2 separate regions of the Homo sapiens genome follow, and region 1 is linked to region 2. The links are contacts of gene promoters, found by promoter capture Hi-C in human tissues and cell types (Jung and others, 2019). All regions are on one chromosome and are shown on one strand. The core of a region is centred on a gene start or on the middle of the fragment in contact, and the rest is flanking DNA. Distances in the headings are between cores, read along the strand shown.

Region 1 (2,700 bases), core at 2-2,501, 260 kb after region 2:
TTCTCGATCATGGCATTGATTCTGTTCATAACAATGATGCAATGTCATCCTCTTCCCCACACATTTGTGTGCAGATAGAAAGAATGCAACAGCACAGAGTTGTTGGGGAATAATTTGGCATCTAAAATATCGACATACCAGCATAGATCATATTTATGACTCTGTTGGGAGTGTCACAGCAATGATTTAATAGGAGGCAGTTGTCTCCAAGGCCTCCTGAATTATGACTGGTTTTAAAATTCTTAGAACCCATTGGAGGCTATTGTTTCTGAAAGGCTACATAATTTAAGTGCTCCACATCCGTCATTATAGGAGATGTCAGAATAGTAAAATCTAATCCTGGACTAAGTTGTTATCGCAGCCCTTTGGTTTGGTGGCTTTGCCGACTTTATAAATATGCCTGTCAGTGCCTGTGGTCTCTACAGTTGGGCAGTCGGCGGTGAATATCATTTCTCACATTTTACACTGGGGGACTGGAACCCAGAAGGCATATGTTTTCCCAAGAGGCACCAACACAGTTGGCCCATGAGGTAGAGCAGCCCCTCCTTCGGCTCAGCCTCCGCTGCACTGAGCCAAGCCAAGCTTCCTACACTGGCCTCTGTGCAGCTGTCTCTCAGCAAGAATGCAAGTCGGGGAGAGAAGCCGGATCCCTGGGATTGTTCTAGAGAGTAGAAACCTCAGAGTAGCCCTCCTTAGACCACCTAACGCATTGCATCGCTGCATACATGTAAGGGACTCAATGCTGGTAGGATTGGCTTAGGAATGATGCAAGTGAAAACAGTGCCCCGGTTTATCATTAGAACAAGGTTCTTAGCTGACAGTTGCCTCAGACTTTGATTTTGTTCTCCTTGACCTGCCACTCCACTCGAGTCCACATCTCTCAAGACTGCACACGCCTGAAGGAGGACTGATTACAAACCAAAGCCTTGTGCCCAGTCTGGATCTTTTTGCATTGTTGAGAAAGCAGCTTACTTTCTTTGGACTGATTCAGCAGGCCAAATTTAGAACAAAGATTTTTAACTATCTCCCTTTATAAATTACTGAGCTATTTTGTAGCCAGGCTACTCTTAATATGAACAAAAAATATTATACAAATTTGTTGTTAATCGTAAACTATAAAAAAATCAGTAATTGTTACCACGTGAAATGAATTTGGATAAAAGAGATACGTTTTTGCCCCTTCCCAGGGTTTAGGAGAGACGAAATGGTGAGATTTTAGCTCTGAATCAGAGGTTCTTATTAGAGGTGGTTTTGTTCCTCCTGACCCCTAGGGGATATTTAGCAATGCCTAGAGGCATTGATGGTGGGCAGATGCTACTATGCCCTCTGCTAAACATTCTACAGTGTATAAAACTGTTCCTCCTGACAAAGAATCATCCAGCCCCAAAATGTCAGTAGTGCTGAGGTTGAGAAACCCTCCTTTAAACTCTTGGGTTTATTTGCTGACCTTTACAGTGGATCAGCTTTTATTTAGTTCATGTAGAGGTGAAATTAATACTAGTGCTCAAATATGTCTTTGTATTCTGGACTTGGCCTGGATCCCCCGACCAAATTTGGGACAAGCTCCTGCCATGTGTTGAGGACCTGAATTCAGGCAGCTAACAACAGTATTTGAACTGTGTTTTCAGTGGTGGGAGTGAAGGAGATGAGCCGACGTGCTAGCAAGCGCATAGGGTTGCATGAGGAAATAGAGAGTAAAGCTGCAGCGTGGAGCCCTGCTATTCAGAGTGTGCTTGGAGAAACAGCAGTGGAGGCATTACTGGGGAGCTTGATGGAAATGCTCCCCTCAGACTTGCTGAATCAAAATCTTTAATTTAGCAAGATCCCCAGTGAGGCTTGTGCATGTAGAAGTTAGAGAAGCACGGGGTAAACTCTTCTTTTTTTTACTTTGGAGGAAAATACACCTTTTTTCTTATTATGGCTCTGACCCTTACTAGCTGTGTGACCTTGGCCAAGTTATAAAACCTCACTGCACCTTATTTGTTTTAGCTGGAAAATGGAGATCATAATATCACCTGTCCTATGAGATTGTTGTAAGAATCAAACAAGCTTATTTATGCCAAGAACCCATATGGTAAAAGCTCAACAAACTGTCACTAGTGATAATAAGAAAAAGATCACAAAAGTAGAAAACATTAGGGAGACAGCTTAGGTCTTAAATCTCACAGTTGTCGTCCCCAAACAATACTTGTATTTTTGCAGATCCAGTTTCTCTGAATACTAAAATAAAACCGGAGTTTCATAAACTTCTATAGACAGTGGTCCTTGTCAGTAGCCCAAGTGGCAGAGAGTACATGGATCTGGGGACAAACAGCCTCTACTGTTAGGAATGTTCCATCCTCCTGGCCTGAGTTACACCTGCTCATTGTGATTCCGAATTTGAAAGGAACACAGTAGGAATTTTCAAGACCCTGGGAAGAGGAAGGCTGTGGTAAACAGGAAGGATGAGATTAGAAGAAGGAGTTTAGGTGAGGTGAGCCCTTGTTTTACTAGTAGGGTTTAAGAATATCCAAGTCAGCTGGACATGGTGGCTCACACCTGTAATTCTAGCACTTTGGGAGGCCGAGGTGGGCAGATCACCTGAGGTCAGGAGTTCGAGACCAGTCTGGCCAACATGGTGAAACCCCGTCTCAACTGAAAATACAGAAATTAGCAGGGCATGGTGGCGCATGCCTGTAATTCCAACTACTCACTCGGGAG
Region 2 (2,700 bases), core at 60-2,559:
CTACCAAGTATTTATCCATTGTATTGTCGATGGTCATCTGGGTTGTTTCCAGTTTGAGGCTTTTACAAATAATGCTGCTAGAAATATTCTTGCCCGTGCTTTTTTATGCTTATGGGTATGCATCTTCTTTATGGCTTGGTGATACCAGCGTCAGGAAGATGTGCTCCTATGTTAGTTTCCCTAAGTTTCACGCTACTATGGAAAGAGACCACCATTTCTGCTGTCCTTCCCAGCTTCTCCCCCACCTCCCCTTTTCCCTAGTTTATAAGACAGGAGAAAAGAGAGAAAGCAAAAAGTTGGAAAAAAACAGAAGTAAGATAAATAGCTAGACGACCTTGGCGCCACCACCTGGCCCTGGTGGTTAAAATAATAATAATAATATTAACCCCTGACCAAAACTACTGGCGTTATCCGTAAATTCCAGACATCGTATGAGAAAGCACTGTAAAACTTCTTGTTCTGTTAGCTGATGTATGTAGCCCCCAGTCACGTTCCTCACGCTTACTTGATCTATCATGACCCTTTCACGTAGACAGACCCCTTAGCGTTGTAAGCCCTTAAAATGGCTAGGAATTTCTTTTTCAGGGAGCTCGGCTCTTAAGACGCGAGTCTGCCGACGCTCCCGGCCGAATAAAAACCTCTTCCTTCTTTAATCCGGTGTCTGAGGAGTTTTGTCTGCGGCTCCTCCTGCTACACTACCTTTCGCACTTAGAGATACAATTGATCTGGAGTTCAGAGCTGTGTGTGATGGGAGGTAGGGGGCCAAGTTCCCTTTTTTCTTTTCCCTACGTGGATATCCCTTTGACCGAGCACCATTAACCAAAAATAGTTCCTTCCTGTGCTCTGCAGCCCCGCCTCTGAAATAAATTGTCCATACACGTGTATTTTTGTTTCTGGTCTCTATCTTATGTTCCACTGGTCTTCCTACTTTGCTTTTCTTTTTCAAGATTTTTTTCTGGCTGTTCTTGACCCTCTGAGTTTCTACATAGTCTTCAGGCCCCTATCTGGGTGCACTTCCTGGTATCCCAGCATCTGACATGTGCCTGGCGCGCAGCAGGAACTCACGGCTGGCTGTAGCCTGGATGCATCAGAGACGATGGCAAACCCTTCTCACACGTGCCAGGTTCCAGCAACCCACCCTAGCCCCGCAATTCCTCCTCGCTCACTCCCACCCCCTGCAGCGCACCCGCAAACGGCAAGGAGGCGTGCCCGCCGCGGCGCGCGTCACTTTCCCCCGGACCGACTGGCTCCGCCGCGGCTCTCCCCGCCCCCGCCTCCGCCTCCACGTCTTGGGGCCGGGCCGGAAGGCAGATCTCACCGCCTGCTTCCCTCTGCAGCGGTAGCACAAGCTCAGCGATGGCGGCTCCAGAAGGCAGCGGTCTAGGCGAGGACGCCCGGCTGGACCAGGAGACCGCCCAGTGGCTGCGCTGGGACAAGGTGAGGGGCACCAGCAGGCGGGGAGCGCCTGGAGCGGGGCCGGGTGCTCTGCCCTCTCCAGGCGCGGCGCTGCTTGCTCTGCCTGAGCTGCCTTCCCGCCCAGTGCATCCCGCTTCTCCCCCGGGAAGACCCAGGAGCGTACGGCCGCTGCTAGGCTTCCTTCGACCTGGCCGGCATGCGGCACGTTCAGAGTTAGGCCGGGAAGGCTTGTCCCCGGACGAAACCAGCCATCCGGCCGGCCGGACTGCAAGTTCGGAGTAGAGGAGCGAGCCAGGGTGGTGTAAGCGCGGCCAGACCCTGGACGCTGTCTAGTTGAGGGGCGCACGCCTTACTGTCACTCAGACCGCTGGCTCGTCGTCGGTAGTCGGCTGTGCATCCCCATGGACCCAGAATCGCTCCGTCCCGCGTATTCCTTTGGCCGCTGAGACCTTTGCAGAGCAGCGTTCTGGTCCGGTCCTCCCATCCCGAGGGCTTGGTTACAAACGTGGGTTGTCCTCCCGGGTGGGCCCGCCTGGCTTCAGGAGTCCCCCTTAGAACTTTGACTGCCAGGGAGGCACACCTGGGACACAGCACGGTTTTCTCTCTCTTCATTCCGTTTCTTAGAATCAGGAACCCAGCTCTGGACATCACTCCCTCTCCTCTCTATAAACTTGCGTCTCGCCCTTTCGACCTGTTCTGCTTGCTGTTAGGTTTTCTCGGAATGTCCCTCGCTGCTCTCCTGCTGAACTTGTTTCTCCCGTTGTGACTCATATTTTGTGCCTGAACTTAAATGTGGCTTACGTAGAGAGTCAGTCCTTCCTTGGCTCCGAAGCGTTAAATTATTTATCCCTAATATTCACTCTAAACAGTCTGTTATTTTCCTTTATAGCTCTTACTACAAATGGTAAAAACAAAAAACTCCAAAAACACTTGTTTGTAGGTTTGTTTAATGTCTGTCTCCAGGGCCGACTTCAGGGGCGAGAGACCCCTGCAGTCTCACAGGACTCGCGCTCCTTGAAGGGCCCACTGTTGTTTTAATGTCCTGCTGTCCTGTCTTGAAAGTCTTACTGGTAAAACAAGAGGTCACCCACTTTCATTGTGCACTGGACCTCCATAAATTATGTGGCCAGGCCTCTCTATTCTCACTACCTTGGTTTGTAGTGCCTGGCATAGGCATAGTGCATGACACATAGTAGGTCACTGAAATACTTGAATGAACAAAGAAGATTACAAGGTCAGTAGGGGTCAGGTCTTTGTCTTTATTTACCATTCTCTGGCCCCTAC

Evidence for each region. Contacts are between HindIII fragments. The study calls those that stand out against the background at their distance.
Region 1: a fragment that was not itself captured here is called in contact with the fragment with the promoter of PGM2 in region 2 in 1 of the 25 tissues and cell types used here (spleen).

What each region holds. Positions count from the first base shown.
Region 1 is chr4:38,085,044-38,087,743 of GRCh38, forward strand. The region is part of intron 14 of TBC1D1 (TBC1 domain family member 1); the gene reads left to right. Among named protein-coding and RNA genes, the nearest start is that of PTTG2, 130 kb to the left of the region's middle. The HindIII fragment of the contact is 4,877 bases long and covers 1-2,700 here.
Region 2 is chr4:37,825,377-37,828,076 of GRCh38, forward strand. It overlaps PGM2 (phosphoglucomutase 2), which reads left to right and starts at 1,310. Exons shown (of 14, transcript NM_018290.4): 1 at 1,310-1,437. The coding sequence starts at 1,357. RefSeq lists enhancers at 981-1,482, 1,483-1,982 and a silencer at 1,193-1,492. The HindIII fragment of the contact is 14,611 bases long and covers 1-2,700 here.